Linked DNA regions of Homo sapiens: all the other regions are linked to region 6. The links are contacts of gene promoters, found by promoter capture Hi-C in blood cells and fetal thymus (Javierre and others, 2016). All regions are on one chromosome and are shown on one strand. Each heading gives the region's core, a stretch centred on a gene start or on the middle of the fragment in contact. The rest is flanking DNA. Distances are from core to core; before and after follow the strand shown.

Region 1 (3,372 bases), core at 61-2,560, 470 kb after region 6:
AGGCTGTTCTCTTAGACTTTTCTTCTTACTATTGGGAGAATACGCTTTGCAGTGACGCCTGTTGACCACCAGACGGCGGTGTGTCCATGGCAGCTCCCAGGTTCACTTGGGATTTGCTCCTTTGACGTTTGACAGTTCTGGCCTTAGCAGGGCCTCTGACGCTTTCGTTTTGTTGAAGTCTTACCTGGATTCCAGTATTTCACAGGATGATCTCTTATTAAATCTCATTTAAATGAAGCATAAATAAAAGTTGTTTTAAGTAAAAATTATCCCAAATCAAAGTAAATTATTATTTATTTATTTATTTTTGGGACAGAGTTTCGCTCTCGTTGCCCAGGCTGGAGTGCAGTGGGGCAATCTCGGCTCACTGCAACTTCCGCCTCCTGGGTTCAAGTGATTCTCCTGCCTCACCCTCCTGAGTAGCTGGGATATTAGAGGTGCCCACCACCATGCCTGACTAATTTTTTTTTTTTTTTTTTGAGACAGAGTTTCGCTCTTGTAGTCCAGGCTGGAGTGCAATGGCGCAATCTTGGCTCGCTTCAACCTCCACCTCCCGGGTTCAAGTGATTCCCCTGCCTCAGCCTCCTGAGTAGCTTGAATTATAGGCATGTGCCACCATGCCCGGCTAATTTTCTTTGTATTTTTAGTAGAGACGAGGTTTCACCCTGTTGGCCAGGCTGGTCTCAAACTCCTAAACTCAGGTGATCCACCCGCCTCAGCCTCCCAAAGTGCTGAGATTACAGGTGTGAGTGACCACACCCAGCCTAAATTCTTAAAACTATGAAATTTAGTACAGTAAATACATTTGGAGCTTGTTATCACTCTTTTCACGAGGCTGTGTGGAAACAAGCAGTGACGCTCTTCATCTGATGAAGAGACCGGAATGGGCCTTCCTCGGGCCTCCTTCCTTGCCGCCTGCCCACAGGTCCCAGTGCTCCTTTCCCCAGCAGCTTCATGTCTCCCCAGAGCCACTGGCCTTGCTCAGCCCCAGCCTCCCCACCCGCCTCCTTACTGTTCTTGTCCTTTGTCACAGCAACTTGAGCTGGTGTGGAGCCCTCCTCAGTCCTTCATAGCTGAGTGCTATGAGTCACCGGGAACAGCCATAGGGGTCTCGGGACATCACTCAGGACAGGATGGTGCCTGCATGTGAGGCTCAGACCCAGACCCTCAGCGTTCAGCAGAGTTGGCAGGACATGACTTAGAATGCCGAGGCTGGGATCAGGGTCAGGAGGGTGAGGCCCTGCACTAGGGCCCTGGCTTCACTCACAGGAAATGGTGACTGTGTGTTTTGGCTGCCTGCAGCAGGTTGGAGGGGACCCACTCTGCCTGAAACACCCCCTCCTCAGCCCTGGTTCCTCTCCGCCAGAGCTCCATGCTTCCCTCACCTCAGTTCAGCTCTCACTGCTGTGGGAAGCCTTCTGAGATCATGTGCTGGGGGCCAGGCATGCAAAAGCAGATGTTGCACTTCCTGACTATGAGGAGAACAGCCCAAGAGGCTGAGTTCAGCAGCCACATGCTGCATAGTGTGGGCAAGGACAGGAGGTTTCCTGGAGGGTGTGCAGTGGGTGGGCACCCTGTGGGTGGGCACCCCTGGGGGCTTCCTGGGGAGAACGTGCTGAATCTGAGTGCATGACCCAGGACCAGTGCTCCACAGATAGTTCCCTCACTGAGAAGGTTCCCCCCACCCAGAGGAACTATCTAGAAATAAACCTAATTTGAAAGATAGCTGACATGAGAAGTTCTTAAAGTAGAAGTTTTTGAATTTCTCCCAGCATTCCATCAACATGTAGATGGGTTGGCAGGGTGGATCTTAGCACCTCCTCTCCCAACCTACCTTTTTAGTTGAGTGGTTCTCAGAGTGTGGGCCCGGGGCAAGAGCCTCAGCCTCACCATCATCTGGGAGTTCCTTAGAAATGCACATTCTCAGGCCCCACTGCAGACCTACTGATCCCCACAGTGTGAAGGTGGAGCCCCCTGTCTGTTCTAACAAGCCCACCAGGTGATGGGGTGCGTGCTCAAGTGTGGAAACTACTGCTTCCATTCTTCCCGGCTTGTGAGTTCTCTTTTTAAGAGACTGAGGCAGAGACTGGACACCCTCCCCCCATAATCCCTGCCTTTTGCCTAAGAAAGCCCCTACACAGTTCCTCCCTTCTTTTCTCCCTGGAGGTAGGGAGGGGCCACCGAGGAAGCCAATGTCCTCTAGGTCTGCAGAGGCTGAGTGTTTTCCTCTGGGCCCCTGCGGAAGGGCCCTCACTGGACTCCACGTGGCAGCTCTTGGCTGCTGCATCCACCCTTTGTTAGCAGCCTGTCCTCACGGAGACCTGCAGCCAGAGCCTGCTGTGTGTGTGTTAGATCTCAGTGAAGTGATTCGCCCTGAAACGCTTCCTGGTGATGATCCCAGTTAACCAGTCCTCATCCTTCTGGGCACCAGATCAAGTGGATTTGGCTTTTAATCCCAATATGGTGGTCTAACCAGACATTTACTTAGATCACTGGTCTTCCTGGAGGATGCAGTTTTCTGGAGTCTGGTCTCCAGCAACTTGCCTTGGCAGGCCACGTGGCCTGGTGTGGCAGCTAAGCATAGGCTATTTTTGTCTTTGCTTTGCAGGAACGAGCTAGAGCGACAGTTTCTTGAATTGCTGCAGTTCAACATCAATGTTCCTTCCAGTGTCTATGCCAAGTATTATTTTGATCTTCGTTCTCTGGCAGAAGCGAACAACCTGAGCTTTCCCTTGGAGCCCCTGAGCAGGGAGAGGGCTCACAAGCTTGAGGTAAGATGGTTTAAAACAGCGTTTTGTGGTGCAGTGTTGCCAATACATCATCTGAGTACCAGAGATGCATGTGGTCACATTGATCATTTCCCCCACTACATGATGTAAAATAAAGATGAGCTACTAGGATATATAGCTGGGCAGTTGATTATGATTTGTTCTGCTTCTTTTTTCTTTGAGACGGAGTCTCGCTCTGTCACCCAGCCTGGAGTACAGTGGTGCGATCTTGGCCCATTGCAGTCTCTGCCTCCCGAGTTAAAGCAATTCTGCTTCAGCCTCTCAAGTAGCTGGGATTACAGGTGCCTGCCACCACACCCGGTTGATTTTTTGTATTTTTAGTAGAGATGGGGTTTCACAATGTTGGCCAGGCTGGTCTCAAACTCCTGACCTCAGGTGATCTGCCTGCCTTGGCCTCCCAAAGTGCTGGGATTACAGACGTGAGCCGCTGTGCCTGGCCAGCCACTTCATATTTTTAATAACCAGTTTAATATCACTTTATACTTAATAAGCAAAGGTTTTTTGTTTTTTTGGGTTTTTTTGAGATGGAGTCTTGCTGTGTTACCCAGGCTGGAGTGCAGTGGCACGATCTCAGCTCATCACA
Region 2 (3,375 bases), core at 500-2,999, 450 kb after region 6:
AATGTAGCTCTTAAATTTAGGTCTATCATTCATTTTGAGCTAATTTTTGTGAGTTAGGGGTCCACATTCGTTCTTGTGCATTTGGATATCCAGTTGTCCCAGTGCCTTTATCCTTTCCCCATTGAACTGTCTTGTCACCCTTGTCAAAAATCACTTGACCATAAACATGAAGGTTTATATCTGGGTTTTCAATTTTGTTCCATTTATCTATATGTATTTCCTTATATCAGTACTACACTATCTTGATTACCATAGATTTGAAGTTGAAATTGGAAAGTATGAGTCTCCAGCTTTTTCTCTGTCAGTGTTGTTTTGGCCATGCCATCCATGATCCTTGCATTTCCCTATGAACATTAGAATTAGCTTGTCAATTTCTGTCAGCACCCACCACCTCAAAAATTTTGGGATTTTAGTAGGAATTGCATTGACTATGTAGATCAGTTTGGGAAGTATTGCAGTCTTAGCAATATTAAGCATTCAAATCTCTTCTAACATGGAATATCTTTCTATTTATTTAGATTTTCTTTCATTTTGTCAACGTTTTTCTATAGTTTTCAGTATACAAATCTGACACTTCTTTTGTTAAATTTATTCCTAGGGGCAGGGTGCAGTGGCTCACGCCTGTAATCCCAGCAGTTTGGGAGGCTGAGGAGGGTGGGTCACGAGGTCAAGAGATCGAGACCATCCTGGCCAATATGGTGAAACCCCATCTCTACTAAAAACACAAAAATTAGCTGGGTGTGGTGACATGCATCTGTAGTCCCAGCTACTCGGGAGGCTGAGGCAGGAGAATCGCTTGAACCCGGGAGGCAGAGGTTGCAGTGAGCCAAGATTGCGCCACTGCACTCCAGCCTGGTGACAGAGTGAGACTTTGTCTCAAATAAAAAAGAAAAGGAAATTTATTCCTAAGTATTTAACTCTTTTGCATGCTGTTATAAATTGAATTGTTTTCTTAATTTCATTTTTGGTGGTTTATTGCTAGACTATAGAAATACAATTTATTTTTATAGATTGATCTTGTACCCTGCCACATTGCTGAATTCATTTATTCTAATAATTTTTTCAGTAGATTCTTTAGAATGTTACATGGGAAGATCACCTGCAAATAGAGATAGTTTTACTTCTTCCTTTTCATTATGGATGCCTTTTATTTGGTTTTCTTGCCTAGTTGCCACAGTTAGTACCTCTAGTAAAGTGTTGAATAGAAGTATCACGAGTGCACATCCTTGTCTTGTTATTGATATTAGGTGTGAAGCTTTCCATTCTTCTCCATTAAATGTTCTGTGTGCTGTGTGCTGTGAGTTTTTTGTAGATGTCCTTTATCAATTGAGGAAGTTTCCTTGTATTCTTAATTTGTGTAGTGTTTTTATTTTGAAAGGGTATTAGATTCTGTTAAATGCTTTTCTGCATCTATTGTGATTGATCATGTAGTTTTTGTCTTTTGTTCTATTAATATGTTAAATCAACCCCGCATTCCGGGATAATTCCCAGTTGGTCACAGTGTATAATTCTTTTTATATGTCGCTGGACTCAGTTTGCTAGTCTTTTGTTGATAATTACATCCATATTTGTAAGGAATTTGGTCTTGTGATAGCTTTGGTTTTGGTATCAGGGTAATAGTAGCCTCATAGAACAAATTGAGAAATATTCCTTCTACTTTTTTTTTTTTGAAGAGTTTGTGGAAGGTTGGTATTCTCATTTAAATGTTTGGTAGAATTTATCACTGAAGCCATGTTGGTCAGGGTTTTTCTCTGTTGGAAGTTTCTACATTACTAATCAGTCTCTTCGCTTGTTTCTTATAGGTCTATTCAGGTTATCTCTTCTTGAGTCAGTTGCAGTAGTTTGTGTTTTTCTAGGAATTTGTGCATTTCATCAGCATTACCCAATTTGTTGTCATGCAGTTGTTCCACAGTATTCCTTTATGATTCTTTTTATTTCTGTAAAGTCTATAATGTCCTCTGTTTTGTTTCTGATTTTACTTATTTGAGCCATCTCTCTTTTTCTTGGTTGGTCTACCTTCAGGTTTTTGAATTTTGTTGTTTTTTCCAAGGAATCGACTTTCAGTTTCATTGATTTTCTCTCGTTTTAGTATTTCTATTTCATTTCTTTCCACTTTAATGTCGATTACTTCCTTCCTTCTACTTACTTTGGTTTCAGTTTGCTCTTCTAGTTGCTTAATGTGGAAAGTTAGGTTATTGATTTGAGATTTTTTTTTAATACAGGCATCTACAGTTATGAATTTCTAAGCTTTAGTTGCATTGCATAAATTTTGCTGGGTTATACTTTCATTTCCATAGATGTATTTTTTAATAAACTTTTGTTTTAAATTAGTTTTAGATTTACATAAAAATTGTGAAGAAAGCAGAGTTCCTATAAATCCCACATCCAGTTTATTTTTAACATCTATAATATTATAAAATTATATAATGTACATAATTTAGTATCTTAGTGTGAGCTGTTTGTTACACTTAATGAACTGATACTGGTTATTATTATTCTATTATTTTTGCGACGGATCTCATTCTGTTGCCCTGGCTAGAGTGCATTGGCACCATTCATGGCTCTCTGCAGTCTCAAACTCCTGTGCTCAAGTGATCCTGTCCCTGCAGCCTCCTGAGTAACTGGAACTACAGCTGTGCACCTTCATACTTGCTTAATTTTTAAAAATATTTTGTAGAGACTGGGTCTTGCTGTGTTGCCCAGGCCGGCTTTGAACTCCTGTCGTCAAGTGACTCTTCCTCCTCGGCCTCCCAGAGTGCTAGGATTACAGGTGTGAGCCACCATACCTGCCCATATATTATTATTAACTGAAGTTCATTTTTACTCCAGTTTACTTAGTTTTTACCCAGCATCCCTTTTCTTCTTTAGGATCCCATCCAAGACACCATCTTGTATCTAGTTGTCATTACCCAGCATCCCTTTTCTTCTTTAGGATCCCATCCAGGACACCATGTTGTATCTAGTTGTCATTATCCAGCATCCCTTTTCTTCTTTAGGATCCCATCCAGGACACCATATTGTGTCTAGTTGTCGTTACCCAGCATCCCTTTTTTTCTTTAGGATCCCATCCAGGACACCATATTGTATCTAGTGGTCATTACCCAGCATCCCTTTTCTTCTTTAGGATCCCATCCAGGACACCATATTGTATCTAGTTGTTATTACCCAGCATCCCTTTTCTTCTTTAGGATCCCATCCAGGACACCATATTGTATCTAGTTGCCGTGTCTCCCTAGTCTCCTCTTGGCTGTGATAGTTTCTCAGGCTTTCCTTGTTTTTGATGATCTTGACAGTTTTGAGGAGTGCTGGCTAGTTTTTTTGTAGAATGTCCCTAACTTGGGATTTGTCTGACGTTTTTGTCATGATTAGACTGGG
Region 3 (3,379 bases), core at 878-3,377, 500 kb after region 6:
CCCCATAGAAGTTCTGCATTGGAGGAACACCCAAAGACTTAGGGAGTTGGCATCCAAGTAGCTTGGAGGTAAGCTGAAGTTATTTCTTCTTCCTTTGTGCAAAGTCCTTCAAAAATATCTTTGATCTAAGCTCTCAGGCACCACAGGAACACACAAGCATTTGTTCTCAGCCTGGGCGTGTTCGGTGGTGACAGCAAAGGCACCTGCCCTCTAGAACAGCCTGGAAACAGCTGGCAGAGAAGAGACAGCCTGCAGCTTACCCCAGCCTCCGTGTGTTCAGGCTCCCCGGTGGTGTGTGCTCACTCTCCCTCCTTCCCTCCCTCTTTCTCTCTCTCTGTCACACACGCCCCCATACACCCCTATGTAAAATGCCTGTACCCCAAGAGATCAGAATTAGGGTAGGGTGTTCGCTGCACCACCAGTTCTGCTTCTGATCTGAGTGTCCAGGGTCAGGTTTCTTGTGACCACAATAAGTATTGCTTGAATTTCACACAATTTCCTCCCTCAGAGGTCCCTGTGCCTTCAGAGGACTATACAAAAAACACCCTCTGGAAGTGTGAGGCTCCTGCATGTACCTACGTGTGTGTGTGTGTGTGTGTGTGTGTGTGTGTGTGTGGTCAGCTCTGGGTTAAATGGAAAGACCACGGTCCTGGAAGAGGCAGCTCTGAGTCCAGATTCTTCTGTGATCTTGGGCAAATTCCCTCACTTTCTGCTAGGGCTACAAGAACAGAATACCTCAGAGACTGGGCGTCTTCTGCAGCAGAAACACCCTCTCACTGTCCTGGAGGCCAGAAAGCCGAGACAAAGGTGTGGGCACCGTTGGTCTCTCCCGAGGACTCTCTCCTTGGTTCGCAGATGGCGGCTTCCCCCGGTGCCTGTAGCATCTTCCCTGTGCACGCACCTCCCTGGTGTCTCTCTCTGGTCGTAATCTCTTCTTCTTAGGACACCAGTCAGATTGTATTAGGGCTCACCCTAATGGGCTCATTTTAGCTTCATTACCTCTTAAAAGACCCTGTCTCCAAATATAGGCACGTTCTGAGGTTCTGTGGGTTAGGACGTTAGCAGATGAATGTTGGGGGGACTTGTTCAGCCTACAGCACTTTTCTCAGCTTCATTTTTGCTCTTGATGTCTGAAGGAGTCAAGCCAGTGATTTCCGAAGTCCTCTCTGAATCAACCAGTTCTGTCTGGGAGTTCTGTCTGTCTCTCTCTCTCTCTCTCTCTCTCTCTCTCTCTCTCTCTCTCTCTCTCTCTCTCTCTCTGTCCTCTCTCCTGAGACTACAAATACTTAGGTGGCCGTGGCCATGTGGTTTTCTTTTTCTTTTCTTTTCTTTTTTTTTTTTTTGAGATGGAGTCTCACTCTGTTGCCCAGGCTGGAGTGCAGTGGCACGATGTAGGCTCACTGCAACCTCTACCTCCCAGGTTCAAGCAATTCTCCTGCCTTAGCCTCCCGAGTAGCTGCGATTACAGGTGCCCACCACCACACCCAGCTAATTTTTTGTATTTTTAGTAGAGATGGGGTTTCACCATGTTGGCCAAGGCTGGTCTTGAACTCCTGACCTCAGGTGATCCACCTGCCTTGGCCTCCCAAAGGGCTGGGATTATAGGCTTGAGCCACTGCACCCAGCCAGCCATGTGGTTTTCTTTCTGCATGTACCTCTCCATCTGAAGAGAACACCCCTCCCTCTCCATCTCTGTCAGTTGCTGGTGTTGTCATAGCTAAGGTCATCTGAGCTGTCTCCCTCTCTAGGTTGCACTTTAGAGTGGCAGTCAGGGAACAGAAAGAAGGCAAGGCTCACATGAAGGAAGATGGGGCCCAGTACAATGTGGCCCGGCGTGCAGGGCTCCTTGAGGTCCCAGGACCATTCCTAGTTAGGGCTCCACCCAACAGCAGGCCCAGGCCCACCCTGGCTCTGGGCACATCCTCATTGTGAGTGTGTGGATCAGGACACACACCCCACCCCTCAGGTCTCGACTGGCTCCTGTATCTGCTACCAGCCCCAGAATCAGCGAGTGTTACCACATTTTTTTTTCCTAAGAGACAAGTTCTCCCTCTGTTGCCCAGATTGGAGTACAGTGGCATGGTCATAGCTCACTGCAGCCTTGAACCCCTGAGCTCAAGCAATCCTCCTGCCTCAGCCTCCTGAGTAGCTGGGACTACAGGCATGTACTACCACGCCTGGCTAACTTGTTTTTCTATTTTTTGTAGAGATGGAGGTCTTGCTATGTTGCCCAGGCTGGTCTTGAACTCTGGGCTCAAGCAATCCTCCTGCTTCAGCCTCCCAAGTTGCTGTTAACTCCTTCTGAGCTGCCCCCCCTTACACTAAGGAAAATGGTGGATGGAGCTGTAAGTGCAGGAACAGAAAATGACCTCCTGTGGGGGCTGAAAGGAATTCTTGCCCGAAACCATCCTTTTCTCCTCTCAGCTCCAAAGAGAAGAAGCATATCTGTGTAGTTACTGTCAGAAGCTCATGCATATCCTGTCCTTGCTCCCTTAAATAATGGCTCCCAATGGCCATATTGAAAGTGCTGTACTCTGAGAGAACTTTGGATATCTTCAGCTCCTGGTTTGCCTCAGTATCCAATTTAACAGAAAAGAGAGAGAAACAGAAAGCAACTGCTTTTAGAGTTTGGTTGTTCCTGAGAAATGGTAGAAATGCCCTGCAATTTCCATCCTGTTTCAGTTCATTGCTAAGGCTTTCATTGAATAAGAGCTTAAAAAACAACAACAACAAACTGAGCCAAAACCAAAATGACATAAACAAAGGCACAGTTAATTTCAACCCATCTGTCTTTTGTCAGAAAAAGACCTTCTGTTTTTGATCACTCTGGCAACAGCATGGGTTTTGTTTTTTAACAGCTAAGTAAGAAGTTAGAAATAGAAGGAAGAACTCCACACCTGTTGCTTTTAGGGTCAATTATTTATTGATGTCATAAACTGCACAGAGGAAGGCATTTTGCTGCAGAAGCTAATGGAGCTACAGTGCAGTAGCTGTATCAATCAGCTCAGCTCAAGTATTTTATTTTTGTTGTTGTTGCTGTTTTTTGTTTTTGTTTTTGTTTGTTTGTTGTTTAAGACAGAGTCTTGCTCTGTCACCCAGGCTGGAATGCAATGGCATGATCATGGCTCACTGTAGCCTCGACCTCCTGGGCTCAAGTGATCCTCCCACCTCAGCCTCCTGAGTAGCTGAGATGACAAGCATGCACCACCACACTGGCTAATTTCTTTTTATTTGTATTTTTTGTAGAGGTGGAGCTTTGCCATGTTGCACAGGCTGCTGTCAAACTCCTGGGCTCAAGTGATCCTCCAGTCTCAGCCTCCCTAAGTGTTGGGATTGCAGGTGTGAGCCACTGCACCCGGCCCAGCTTTAGAAACAGGCT
Region 4 (3,036 bases), core at 510-3,009, 430 kb before region 6:
TAAAGGGGGAAGAAGCAAGAATGAACATGACCTATTTATTCATCTGCAGCAAAAATTGGGCCTGGCTATGGTCCATCCATCATCTGGCCTTCATCCAGATTCAATGGTCTATAATTAAAGAATCACAAAGATCAGAATTGTTATCAAATGTTGGGCAAAACAGCTGTCAAAGGAGGGACCGCCCAGACAGTAAATGAGATAAGAGGCTCTGACTTTGAGACAAGCCCTTCAGTGTGGAAGGTGGGGCATTTTATCCAATCAATGTTAGATAAAGGTTCCCAATCATGGAGTAGTGCAGCAGTCCAAGAAAGAGGCAGATTTCTACCTTGAAAGCCCCACTGGAAAGAAGGTCCTGCAGCCAGATCCTGCATGTAAGCACCCTGGGGAGATGGTTAAATTCTGCTCCTTTGACCTGCAGGCCTAACCGTGAAGGCTACTACTGGGCAGGGAGCTACTTAAGACAACTGCTCGGCTGACATCTCGGAGTGCCTAAAATGAACTTCTGGCCCTTTCATCAGTATTCCTCATTCTCAAAATGTTCCCTTTCCCCAACATCACCCATCATCAGAAAAATGCAAATCAAAACTACAATGAGATATCATCTCACCACAGTTAAAATGGCTTTTACCCAAAAGACAGGTAATAACAAAGGCTGGCAAGGATGTGGAGAAAAAGAAAACCTCATACACTGTTGGTAGGAATGTAAATTAGTACAACCACAATAGAAAACCATTTGGAGGTTCCTTAAAAACTAAAAATAGAGCTATCACATGATCCAGCAATCACACTGCTGGGTATATAACCTAAAGAAAGGAAATCAGTACATCAAAGAGGTATCTGCACTCCTATGTTCATTGCAGCACTATTCACAATAGCCAAGATTTGGAAGCAAACTAAGTTTCCATCAACAGATGAATGAATAAAGAAAATCTGGTACATACACACAATGGAGTACTATTCAGCCATAAAAAAGAATGAGATCAGCCAGGTGCGATGGCTCGCACCTGTAATCCCAGCACTTTGGGAGGCAGAGGTGAGAGGATCACTTGAACCAGGAGTTTGAGACCAGCCTGGCCAACATGGTGAAACCCCATCTCTACTAAAAATACAAAAATTAGCCCAGCGTGGTATTAGATGCCTGTAATTCCAGCTACTCGGGAGGCTGGGGCAAGAGAATCCCTTGAACCTGGGAGACCAATGTTGCAGTGAGGTGAGATAGTGCCACTGCACTCCAGCCTGGGTGACAGTGAGAAACTGTCTCAGAAAAAAAAAAAAAAAGAATCAAACTGAAGATCATCATCTTAAGTGAAACAAGCCAGGCACAGAAAGACAAACATTGCATGTTCTCACTCATTTGTGGGAGCTAAAAATTAAAACAACTGAAATCATGGAAATAGAGAGTAGATGATGGTTACCAGAGGCTGGGAAGGGTGTGGGGCTGGGAGCAGGGGAGTGGAGTTAATGAGTACAAAAATACAGTTAGAAAGAATGAATAAGAACTAATATTTCCTAGCAGAGCAGGGTGACTATAGGCAACAATAATTTCATTGTACATTTAAAATAACTAAAAGAGGCCAGGTGCAGAGGCTCATGCCTGTAATCCTAGCACTTTGGGAGGGCCAGGGCGGGTAGATTGCCTGAGCTCAGGAGTTCAAGACCAGCCCGGGCAACATGGCAAAGCCCCATCTCTACTAAAAATACAAAAAAAATAGCCAGGCGTAGTAGTGCATGCCTGTAATCTTAGCTACTCGGGAGGCTGAGGCAGGAGAATTGCTTGAACTCGGGAGGCGGAGATTGCAGTGAGAGGAGATCGCACCATTGCACTCCAGCCTGGGCAACAGAGCTTTGTAACACGAAGGATAAATGCTTGGGGTAGATATCCCACTTAATCTCATGTGGTTATTAGTCATCACATGCCTGTACCGAAATATTTCTTATGCCCCATAAATATACACACCTAATACGTATCCACAAAAATAAAAAATTTTTAAAAAAAGTTCCTTCTCTACTTCCAAGCATCTGATTTTAGACGAAGATGGAGCTGACAGGCCCACTGAACACAGTGGGGTGGCACCCTGTTTATGCTTCAGAGGTTCCAGAAGTGTCAAACATTTTAAAGAAGCTGTGTCATTCTTCTATTCATCCACAAAACTTTTCATTTCCCCCTCAGTTTTTGTTATTCCCAAAGAATTCTTTAAAAGAAAAAAAAAAACAGAACATGTATTCCATGACCAATCACTGAAATTCTGAAGATGAGGTGCAGTAGCTGGCCCTTGGGTCTGGGTGCTGTCCTTCACGGAGCCCAGGCCTGAATCTGTAGTGTACAATGTTTAGGCGCCTCATTCAACCAGCCCTGGTGTTGCTTCGTCTTTTCGCCTTGGCACTCCAGTTCTGCCTTCTCTTGGCTTAGCAGGTTGGGGCCTCAGGGCCGCAGCAGCACAGGGAGTGTGTCCAGCTGCGATGTTTCCCTAAGGATGACACTCCCTTCCTCATCTCGCTTCTGCCGCCGAGACCAAAGAGACCAGAGGTGGGAGTTCTTTTTAATATATTTGGTTATGTCACTGTCTGAATCAATAGCAAAGGCAATCGAAAACCTTTTTCTTTTTTCTTTTGAGACAGAGTCTCGAACTGTTGCCCAGGCTGGAGTGCAGTAGCGTGATCTCGGCTCACTGCAACCTCCACCTCCCAGGTTCAAGCGATTCTCCTGCCTCAGCCTACCAAGTAGCTGGGATTACAGGTGTGCACCCCCAGGCCCGGCTCATTTTTGTATTTTTAGTAGAGGTGGGGTTTCACCATGTTGGTCAGGCTGGTCTCAAAATCCTGACCTTGTGATCCGCCCACCTCAGCCTCCCAAAGTGCTGGGATTATAGGCGTAAGCCACTGCACCTGGCCTTTTTTGAGAAGGTGTCTCCCTGTGTTGCCCGGGCTGGAGTGCGGTGGTATCTCAGCTCACAGCAGCCTCTGCCTCCCGGGTTCCAGAGATTCTCCTGCCTCAGCCTCCTGGGTAGCTGGGATTACAGGCATGTGCCACCACAC
Region 5 (3,327 bases), core at 29-2,528, 440 kb before region 6:
CGCTCTGCAGCTGCGGCTGGGAGCAACTAAGTATCTCTGCAGGTGCCTGTTCTCACTGGGATATTAAGAAACCAAGCGTTTTAAAAAGCAGACATGTGGACAAACGAAAGGTTATCAGCTGATGAGCAGATTTTTAGAGCAAATTATTAAAACGTGTTACTATATCTGACATGTTCTAATTCTTCCCCGTTTTATTTTTAGATACCATTTTACTACTAAGAGTAAAACTCCAAGCTAAAATCCAAAATGGAAAAGAAAATCTCTTTAACTGATTAGCTCTTGGGAGAATCACCAGGACAACACAGAACCGGGATAAGAGTATATGTTGTAGGAACTAGGCCAGAACCCCCAAAACATAGCGAGACGCAGGAACAGTCACAAAATAGCATTCTTCACAAAACAGGCAAGTTAGAAATAACTGAATATATGGTTATCATATGTAACCACTCACAGTCAAATAAATTGTTTTACCTAAATAAAAACCATCAATAACTCCTCATTTTTGTTTTTGGATTAGTATAGATGAATGACTACAATTAGCTAAGCATTTTTTTGTAATCGTGATTAAGTCCAGGTACATGAAAAACAAACTCAACTCCCTGATGAATAATTTAGAAAATAATATACTTTATTACTGAAATTTTGCCCTAAAGCTTTCTCTGCTGTCCAAATAATTTCCCAACTGCATTTCAAATTAAACTCCTAAGTTTTCACCTCTCTCCCCAGGGTGTTTTTCTGCATTACAACATATTTTAATATGTTTAAATGATAGCAATGCTATAAAGTGTTATTTCTCACTGCAAACAGATTAATATCACTTCATACCTCAGAGAGCATAATAGTAATAAGGTAATAAAACAAAGCAGGATCATCACCACTAATAACCTGAGAGGGAAGTCCTGCTAAGACTTCATCTCTATCACGGAATATTCTTGGTCATTACTTAGATGGGAGCGTTTCCCACATCACATCTCTAATTCAGTAATTGCTTTTCGTGTGCGTGAGACAAGGTCTCGTTCTGTCGCCCAGGCTGGAGTGCAATAGCACAATCATAGCTCACTGCAGCCACCACTTCCCTGCCCCAAGTGATTCTCCTTAGTGATTCTACCTTAGCCTCCCAAGCAGCTGGGACCCACAGGTATATGCCACCACCTTCAGCTACGATTTTTTATTATCATTATTTTTTTGCAGGCTGACAGGGTCTCCCTATATTGCCCAGGCTTGCATGCACTTTTATATAATTACTGTCTTCCTCCCCAAATTTCCATATACCTCTGATGGTCTCATAACATGTTTGACATCAGAACCATACAACTCCCACTTGGGTATTTATTTTTTGGAAGTGTGAACATATTTGCTTTTATTTCAGCAAAGAGCTTTATTAACTACTCATTCATTCTGACTGCTATAGTATGCTTTAAAGAAGGCTTTTTATACCTGGAACTTCAGGATGTCTGTAGTTAACCAGAATCACGTTTTGAAGATCCATCCATTATTCATCCCTTCCTGTGAATAACCTCACAATGTTCATTATTTATTATAAACAACAAGTCATAAGCTGGAGTCTAAGCCCATGAGGACAGGGGCTTTGTCTCCATTCACTACTGCATCCCAGCATCTGGAAGAGCACACCGCACACAGTAGTATGTACTCACTGAAGGGAGGAGCGGATGAGTTAAACAGGGAAGGTCACTTCAAAGTGTCCGTTTTGCACGGGTTTCGCAAAGCCAGCAGTCCTACTGATAAGACTCCACAAATTTAAAGTTGTTCTGTATTCTAACACATAAATAGTACCAGGGCAGTAACAACGAAAACGTTAAGGACTTTTCAAGCCCACAGAAAATACAAAAAATCTGTCACAGTTTATATTCCAAAAAGTTCTTTTTTTCTAGTTTTTCTCTTTTAAGCTTTGCTGGGCTTTAGACTGCACCTTTTCTCGATGCAGTCAATGCACCACACTTAACGTGTAGCTCTTTTTTTCCATTATCATAACTTAAATTGCACTTCTAATTATCTTTTAGCTAAAATGCAAGCAAACATAAAGCTTCCCTTTCTATCTTCTCATCCATATTTGTAGTTGCTAAGGCCTATTTGAGAGAAATCGTAGGGTAGGTCAGTTTTTGCAAATATTCAACCAAGAAATGATAAATATATTTGGAAGCCTAGCTTTGTATTGTTTGAAGCTAGCAGCTGGAGTAGGGATATTTAAGTGCTGCTTCCTGGGCCCAAATTAAAACCTCAGAGAATGGGATCAAAGAGGAGGGTGCAGTGAGACCCCTGACATTTCATTATTCTTCTCTGTACATGTAGATATGTGCCAATTCTAGACAGGAGTCCAACATACAAATAATATCTGAAGTACTCAGGAATCTGTTTATAAATAGAAATATCTACTTCATCCCGGGATCGCCATGCGGCCTGCACATGAGTCTGAGGACTGCATTTGATTTATACAAACAGACTCAAACCTCGTCTTAAAATGCATATGTGAACCCCAGATGCAAACCTATAAAGCCCAGTTGAACTGCAGAGCAACTGTAATAAATGCAATAATGTTAAGTCAGCTTCAAAGACATTCTTCAAAGAAACTCCAAAAACTTTCATGAATGTTTTATAGTTATTTTTAATATTGATGTATTTCATCTTAAAACCAATGCCAAGAGCTGCCGTGAATGGCTCATCTTTTCATGCTGGTGTGCTGCTTGGAGTCTCTCAGAAGACCAAAAATTACTTCACAATACTGCAAGATCTAAACCAGTGGCCCCCAACTTTTTTTTGGCAACAAGGACCAGTTTCATGTAAGACAATTTTTCCACAAATGGGGGCTTGGGAGGATGGTTTCAGGATGAAACCATCTGGCCTCCGCCTCAGATCATCAGGCATTAGTTAGATTCTCAAAAGGGGCGTGCAACCTAGATCCCTCACACACAGTTCCGCTAACACCGATGCTGACCTGACAGGCGGCGGAGCTCAGTCAGTAATGCTCCCTCCCCTGCTGCTCACCTCCTGCTGTGCAGCCTGGCTCCTAATGGGCCATGGACCAGTACCACACAGTGGTCTGCGGGTTGGGGACCCCTGATATAAACAATACTACACAATGTGAAAATCTATGTCCTTGTATGTGACATTTTTAAGGAAGCCCAGCAATCTCAGAGGGCCAGTCACTTCACACATCCTAGATGAACCAGGAGTCCTGCTGTTCTCTGGGGAATGGCCAGGATAAACTCATTATGGTCACTTACAAATGAATCCTCCAAACAAGGGACACCATCATCATCAGTTTTAAATATGGCTGTGGAGCTACGTCTGCTAAGCATTAAATGAACC
Region 6 (3,183 bases), core at 171-2,670:
ATCCCAGCACTTTGGGAGGCCTAAGCAGGCGAATCACCTGAGGTCAGGAGTTCAAGACCAGCCTGGCCAACATGGTGAAACCCCATCTCCACTAAAAATACAAAATTAGCCGGGCATGGTGGCGCATGCCAGTAATCCCAGCTACATGGAAGGCTAAGGCAGAAGAATTGCTTGAACCCGGGAGGCGGAGGTTGCAGTGAGCCGAGATCGCACCACTGCACTCCAGCCTGGGTGACAAGAGCAAAACTCCATCTCAAAACAAAAAAACTGTGTACTTCTCTTATCTCACGCGACTCTTTTGGAAGGATCTTCCAGATACTGTATAAGGGCAAAAGAAGCAAAGTATAGCTCATTTGTTCATGTGTCTGTCTTGAAAAGGAATGTAAGATTCTAAAGGGTAGGCAACAGTGTTTTGAATGTTTTTAAGCGATTATTATGTAGTCAGTTGTCAATCAGATCAAAGTGATTATTTCCGATACTTTACTACGAAGGTAGGCTTGGCCAGGTCTAGTTCAAAGACGTTTATGTTGAACAGTCACAATCTATAGCGAACGTTAATATTTTGCATCTTATCTTCAAAATTTAAACGCCCAGGGTACTGGCCTTCAACTGTTAATATTAATCCATGGGGCAAAGATGTGGACTTAACATTAATAACAGTCTGCAATTCACAGATGTTTTATTTGCATGCACGTAATGGTAGGGAATGGTCCAGACTCTCTAGAGGGTAAGCAAGTGCTAGAAAGCGTGTGAGGATCTTATTTCACCAGACCCTAAGGGTTGAGACAAGAAGTCTAGCATGCACGTAGGATACTCCTCCCCAAAGCTATCAATCTTTGCAGTCTGCGGAAACAAAAGTGAAAACACTCGGGGTAAGGATGCATGAGATGCCCCCCCCCACACACACACACAAACACACAGAGTTGTGTATTCGTGTGAGCACGTAAATATGTAGAAGAATACACGCACTCTCACCTTCCCTCCTTCGAAGGAAAATGGGGCCGCGGGAGAGGCGGCCAAGATCGGGTTGGGGAGGCCCGGGATCCAGTCCAGGGGGTGGCAGGGCTTACGGGTCAGCGCTCTGGGGAGCCGAGGTCACTTACAGGATACCATCTTCCCGGGCCTCCCCCTTTCATCCCTCTCCCCACACCTCGTCGCCCCCAACTCCTCTCCTCCGCCCCAGCCCCGCCACCCATTAACCGGGAAGGGAAGTTTCCCGGCGCCTGCAGCCCGGCTCCCCGACCCTCAGCGGGGTTACCTTCTGCAGAAGCAGGGCAAGGGGCAGGGGACAAGGGGAGGGGGAGGCAGCCCGAAGGAGTGAAAGACGAAGCCCCGGCGAGGAAGGTGGGCGGAGGCGGCGGCGGCGGCGGCTGTCAGCTCGCGTTCCCCTGCTCACAGCGCTGCCATTACTGTGCGCCGAGGCCGCCTCCCCGGCCGGCCGCCGCCACCGGCCCCGGAGACGCGGGGGGTGGGGAGCGAAGCCCGGGGAGCCCGCGCGCCGACACTCACCTGTCTCCGCGAGGAAAGACAGCAAAGTCCAAGGCCGCCGCCGCTCCCCGGCGGGACAGGGGCGGTAGGGAGGGGGGGAAAGGGGAGAAGGACGGGCCGATCACGGGATCCGTAAAACAATCGTCCTCCTCTGCCTCCGGCTTTGCCCAACACACACCCTCCGGTCTCCTTCTTCCGCTGCTGCCAAATCCCCCCCGCCACCCGGAAAGCAATGGTACAGGCCGCGTTACGGCAAGCGCAGGGAGCCAAGCTTCGTGTGATTGCGAAAGGCCACGGAAATTAATATTCCAAGTGATTCCTTGCTGGGCTTGCTGTCAATGAGGCAATTGCGGTTCGCTGAGCTGATGGACACAGTACCCACCCACTACCCGTTAGTTCAGGGACTGCTAATAACAATATGTTGGAATGGTGCTTTCAACAGAAGTATGTTTTCCTTGTTTCAGACCTATGTGAATATCCTAAGACACCACAATCCTCTTGCCACACACTTCCATGGGCTTTGCAAATGATCAAAAATAAATTAGCAAAACTACTTTTCCTCTCTGACAAACTCTTTTTCTTGTTAGTTTTTATCTACAGAGAATTTCTTGGACATACATGTATTTTCGATAAAGAAACTTCACATCTTTTTCACTAATACCCCACCTTCACCAAGCCCCAAGCCTATCAGTTTGAAGGGTTTTCCTCCCTTGGAGTTTTAAACGGTAAAGCTGATAAAAATATAGAATTACTCATCACCTCCTCATATATGCAGGGCCACAGAGGAACAAAAGCCCGGCCTTAGTGCTTTTTGCCTTTCATATCCTCAAGAGCTCACCATCAGGGTCTTGTTCATTTATACGATTCAGCAAGCTTTTCCCTCCCATCCCTTCCTTCCAAACTGCACGAACCCTTCAAGGCCCATTTAAAACCCTGCCTCCAGACCTGATCAGTCCCTAGAGCCTTCCTCCTCTTCTAATCTGCTTCTCTTGGTACTTGAAGTCTCTACTCTTTATTTCAGTAAAGGGTTTTTATATACGAAATTCAATCCAACAGTATGTTTCCATTATGTGACCTTTTTTTCCTCCCATGTTTTCCCCCTTTTAATCTAGTGATTCTCAAAGTGTGGTCCCCAGACCTCTGGAAATCCCTGAGACCTTTACAGAGGTCATAAGGTTAACAACTAGTTTGTTAACAATGCAATATGTCTGGTCCTTTTTTTTTTTGGATACAGAGTCTTGCTCTGTCACCCAGGCTGGAATGCAGTGGCGGCACAATCTCAGCTCACTGCAACCTGCACCTCCCGGGTTCAAGTGATTCTCCTGTCTCAGCTTCCCGAGTAGCTGGTATTACAGAAGCCCGCCACCACACCCGGCTAATTTTTTGTATTTTGTAGAGACAGGGTTTCACCATGTCACCACATTGCCCAGGCTGGTCTTGAACTCCTGAGCTCAGGCAATCCACCCACCTCAGCCTCCCAAAGTGCTAGGATTACAGGCCTGAGCCACCGTGTCAGGCCCCCCCTGCTTTTTGTTTTGTTTTGTTTTTGTTTTTGACACAGGGTCTCCCTCTGTCGCTGAGGCTGGAGTGCAGGAGTGCAGTGGCCTGATCATAGCTCACTGCGGCCTCAAACTCCTGGGCTCAAGCGAGTGTACCATCTCAGTTTCCGAAGCAGCTGTGACTACAGGCGCGTGC
Region 7 (3,104 bases), core at 92-2,591, 420 kb after region 6:
ATGGCTCACAGCAGTCTTGACTTCCTGGGCCCAACCGATCTTCCTGCCTCAGCCTCCTGGGTAGCTGGCACCACAGGCATGCATCACCACACCTGGCTAATTTATTTCTATTTTTTGTAGAGATGAGGTCTTGCTGTATGGCTCAGGTTGGTCTCGAACTCCTGGGCTCAATTGATTCTCCCACTTGGGCTTCCCAAAGTGCTGGAATTATAGGCATGAGCTACCATGCCTGGGCCTTACATTATTTAATGCTTTTTTTTGATCCTAACAAACCTTTCTAAGAAGTAGTAAGACAGTCATTGAAAATGGGAAGTTAAAGCCTAGAGACTCTTAAGTGTTAAATGACTTAATATTTATTCAGTTCATGTACGTGCTAGGCACTTTACAGGTGTTATTCTTCACAGCACCACAATGAAGGACAGGTTCTGTATCTGAATTTTATTGATGAAGACATTGAAGCTTGGGGAGGCTAAGCCTAAGGTGATAGGCTTATACATTTTAATTAATTACGAAAGGGGTTACTATTATTGGTTATTCTAGGACAACAGGGACAAACTACGGCTGTCCTGATCAAGCCAGGATGTGTGATTGTCCTCTGTAAGTAACTTGCCCACATTTACACAACTCGTCAGTGGCAGAGCTGCAGCCAAGCACTGGGCTTTCTGACTCCACTGTGCTCCTGCCCTGCCTGTCTGGAGTGTCTCGTCCACATGAACTTGGCTCCTTGATCTGCCTGCCATGCCTCACTTCATGTGTTCGGAACGTGTCAGCATTTCACTGCCCAATGGTGCAGGCCCCTGCGGCCAGCTCATTGCCACACAGCATGCCCCTTTCTGCCGTAACACAGCTGCTGTGGCCACACTGTGGTCTCCCTCACAGAGGATCCTGTGCCATAATGGAGGCAGACGACTTCCCACAGTTGGGGGCAGTGAGCACTCTAGTCCCGGGATGGAGCTGTTCTTCATTTGCTGATTCAAGAAAATACCAGTCTGTACCTCCAAGACACCTGCAGTCTAGACCCCGGAGACATATAGAAAAGTGAGCCAGAAATGACAATGGAGAGTGACTGGTGCTGTGGAGGGTGAACACGGGCATAGAACACACAGAGGGGTACCCAGCCCAGGTGGTCTGGTGGTAGGAAGGCATCTAGAGGAAGCACTGTCAGCAGAGTGCTGAAGGATGAGTGGAGTCAGGGAGGGGAAAAGGTCTGTAGGGTATTGTACAAGAAGGTTTAGGAATGAACAGCTCAAGGGAAGGGCTGCAGAACCCCAGAGAGGGAGGCACGGACTTGGTAGTCAGACAAACATGGCTTTAAGCTCTGGTGTCTTAGATTTGGTGTTGGAAATGCTACTTCATTTCTCTGATCTCCTTGTCTGTAAAATGGGAATTCTACCCTGCAGTGCAGGGCTCTGAATGTTTGTGAGCTCTAAGTGAATACACGTAAAGTAACCCAGAACACTGTGGGTTCATCTTTGATGGCCATTAAATAAAAGTGGCCGTTGTTCCTTTCATCTTTGAATTATGTCCAAGTGTGGTGTGCAGGGAAAGAGGAAGTGAACCGTGAACCTGGAGAGATGGAGAGTTGACTCGTGTGTCTCTCCCCAGTGGAGAACGTCAGAACCATCTAGGCAGGGAGGCAACACGATCTGATTTGCTTTGTATTAAGGTGACAGTAGCACTTGAAGAAGAATGGTTTAGAGAGGAGTGAGCCTCGAGGCAAGGTGGTTACTGTAGTGATACAGGTGAGAGTCCACGTGGCTTTCATATACCAGATAGTGGCTAGAGGGGTGCAAGGGAAAGGATGATGTGGAAATGTACTTGGAATAGAATCGATAGCACTTGATACAAGGAAACCAACAGAAAGGAAAACAAAATTCAAGAATATTTTGTGGATTTCTGGTTTTAAGCCATTACAGTTGATTAGAGGAACAAATTAGTTTGGCATTTGAGGTACCCATGAGGAACATTGAGATGGAGGGGTCAACCAGGCAAGTAGTGAGCTCAGAAGAGAAGTTGGGGCCAGAAAGGAGAGATTTGGGACCCAACAGAGGGGAGAAGGAAGTTGAATTAATGAGAGTGGGTGAGAGTCCCCTGGGAAAGTGTTTAGAGGAAGAAGAAAAGACCATTACATTTGAGGAAATTCAGAGAAGCAGAGTCCACAAAGGGACTGCGACTGAGTAGCCAGAAAGATGGGGGAAAGCAAGGAGGAAACCCCAGAAAGAAAAAAGCTTCAGTTCAAATATCAAATTGGTAGGAGGACTGCAGAGGACCCATCTGCATAGCGGACTTAGAGTTTTTTGTGAATGGGGAGGGAGTGTGGAGGTTGAGCGAATTCAGAAAGACATTTTGAAGAAGCCGAGGGACTAATTAGTTCTGGCCTGAAGAGAGTTAGGGCTTCTACTCCAGGTAGGGGGAGGGATGACCGATTTGCCAAGAAAGAGGCAAGAAGGTTGAGGGGACGCTGTCTGGTGGCCTCTGGGTTCTGTGACTCAAACTCCCTGTGGGGAGCTCAGCATGGTGATGGGTGGAGGATTTGAGGAGGTGTCGCGGGTGGGAGCAGTTGAAATAGTTGGGAGGAAGATTTGGGGTCATTGTGGAAGGTCCAGTGGAAGTCTTATCCCTGCTTCCTCCTCCTCATCATCCTGCGCTTTGATCGTATGTTTGTGTGTGCATGTACATGTGTGTATCCATGTATCTTTGTATCTGACAGACATCAGTATTGGAATTATCTAAGGGGATAATCTCATTATTTGGGACACATGATAACTCTTCAATAAAATCTTCTTAAATATATCATTCAACAATTTTTGTATATTAATGGACCTTGATGTAAATCATATTTTGTACTATAGACATTGTGTGAATACATGGACTAAATGACCTTGCTTCAGTCTAGCTCTAAAATTCGATTATTCTGCATATTCATAGCTTAATCTGTAAGGTTCACATTATTTCAAAGATATAAATTTTATTTCTTTAGAATAATTCATAATTGGGCTTCTCACTCATCAGGCTCCCCTTCTAAGCAGTTCGTGGTTAACTCTGTAGTATCTGCGCTCTCACCAAGACACTTACTGTATTTGGGACAATCTTTCTAAATTGTT

Evidence for each region. The method cuts DNA at HindIII sites, captures the fragments that hold promoters and counts their contacts. A CHiCAGO score of 5 or more calls a contact.
Region 1: a fragment that was not itself captured here is called in contact with the fragment with the promoter of CUL2 in region 6 in 15 of 17 cell types (naive CD4 T cells, activated CD4 T cells, total CD8 T cells and 12 more); the score reaches 19.7 in naive CD4 T cells.
Region 2: a fragment that was not itself captured here is called in contact with the fragment with the promoter of CUL2 in region 6 in 14 of 17 cell types (activated CD4 T cells, neutrophils, naive CD4 T cells and 11 more); the score reaches 21.5 in activated CD4 T cells.
Region 3: a contact is called between a fragment that was not itself captured here and the fragment with the promoter of CUL2 in region 6, in 8 of 17 cell types (activated CD4 T cells, neutrophils, monocytes and 5 more). The highest score is 9.7, in activated CD4 T cells.
Region 4: a fragment that was not itself captured here is called in contact with the fragment with the promoter of CUL2 in region 6 in 5 of 17 cell types (fetal thymus, megakaryocytes, M2 macrophages and 2 more); the score reaches 12.7 in fetal thymus.
Region 5: a contact is called between a fragment that was not itself captured here and the fragment with the promoter of CUL2 in region 6, in 1 of 17 cell types (fetal thymus). The highest score is 5.4, in fetal thymus.
Region 7: a contact is called between a fragment that was not itself captured here and the fragment with the promoter of CUL2 in region 6, in 10 of 17 cell types (naive CD4 T cells, total CD8 T cells, naive CD8 T cells and 7 more). The highest score is 9.9, in naive CD4 T cells.

What each region holds. Positions count from the first base shown.
Region 1 is chr10:35,563,415-35,566,786 of GRCh38, forward strand. It overlaps CCNY (cyclin Y), which reads left to right. Exons shown (of 10, transcript NM_145012.6): 9 at 2,609-2,771. Among named protein-coding and RNA genes, the nearest start is that of GJD4, 40 kb to the right of the region's middle. RefSeq lists enhancers at 1,008-1,117, 1,178-1,287, 1,558-1,637. The HindIII fragment of the contact is 2,906 bases long and covers 1-2,763 here.
Region 2 is chr10:35,538,908-35,542,282 of GRCh38, forward strand. The region is part of intron 7 of CCNY (cyclin Y); the gene reads left to right. Among named protein-coding and RNA genes, the nearest start is that of GJD4, 65 kb to the right of the region's middle. The HindIII fragment of the contact is 992 bases long and covers 1,254-2,245 here.
Region 3 is chr10:35,586,154-35,589,532 of GRCh38, forward strand. It overlaps LOC107984221 (a long non-coding RNA gene), which reads left to right. Exons shown (of 3, transcript XR_001747422.2): 3 at 1-193. Among named protein-coding and RNA genes, the nearest start is that of GJD4, 17 kb to the right of the region's middle. The HindIII fragment of the contact is 6,824 bases long and covers 1-3,379 here.
Region 4 is chr10:34,661,609-34,664,644 of GRCh38, forward strand. All of the region lies in intron 2 of PARD3 (par-3 family cell polarity regulator), which reads right to left. It also overlaps the pseudogene RPL37P18. Among named protein-coding and RNA genes, the nearest start is that of PARD3, 150 kb to the right of the region's middle. The HindIII fragment of the contact is 6,127 bases long and covers 1-3,036 here.
Region 5 is chr10:34,645,682-34,649,008 of GRCh38, forward strand. The region is part of intron 2 of PARD3 (par-3 family cell polarity regulator); the gene reads right to left. Among named protein-coding and RNA genes, the nearest start is that of PARD3, 170 kb to the right of the region's middle. The HindIII fragment of the contact is 1,254 bases long and covers 652-1,905 here.
Region 6 is chr10:35,088,921-35,092,103 of GRCh38, forward strand. It overlaps CUL2 (cullin 2), which reads right to left and starts at 1,421. Exons shown (of 21, transcript NM_003591.4): 1 at 1,259-1,421. RefSeq lists silencers at 1,192-1,321, 1,342-1,541, 1,595-1,783 and an enhancer at 1,702-1,841. The HindIII fragment of the contact is 6,346 bases long and covers 1-1,757 here.
Region 7 is chr10:35,510,282-35,513,385 of GRCh38, forward strand. All of the region lies in intron 3 of CCNY (cyclin Y), which reads left to right. Among named protein-coding and RNA genes, the nearest start is that of GJD4, 94 kb to the right of the region's middle. The HindIII fragment of the contact is 1,769 bases long and covers 458-2,226 here.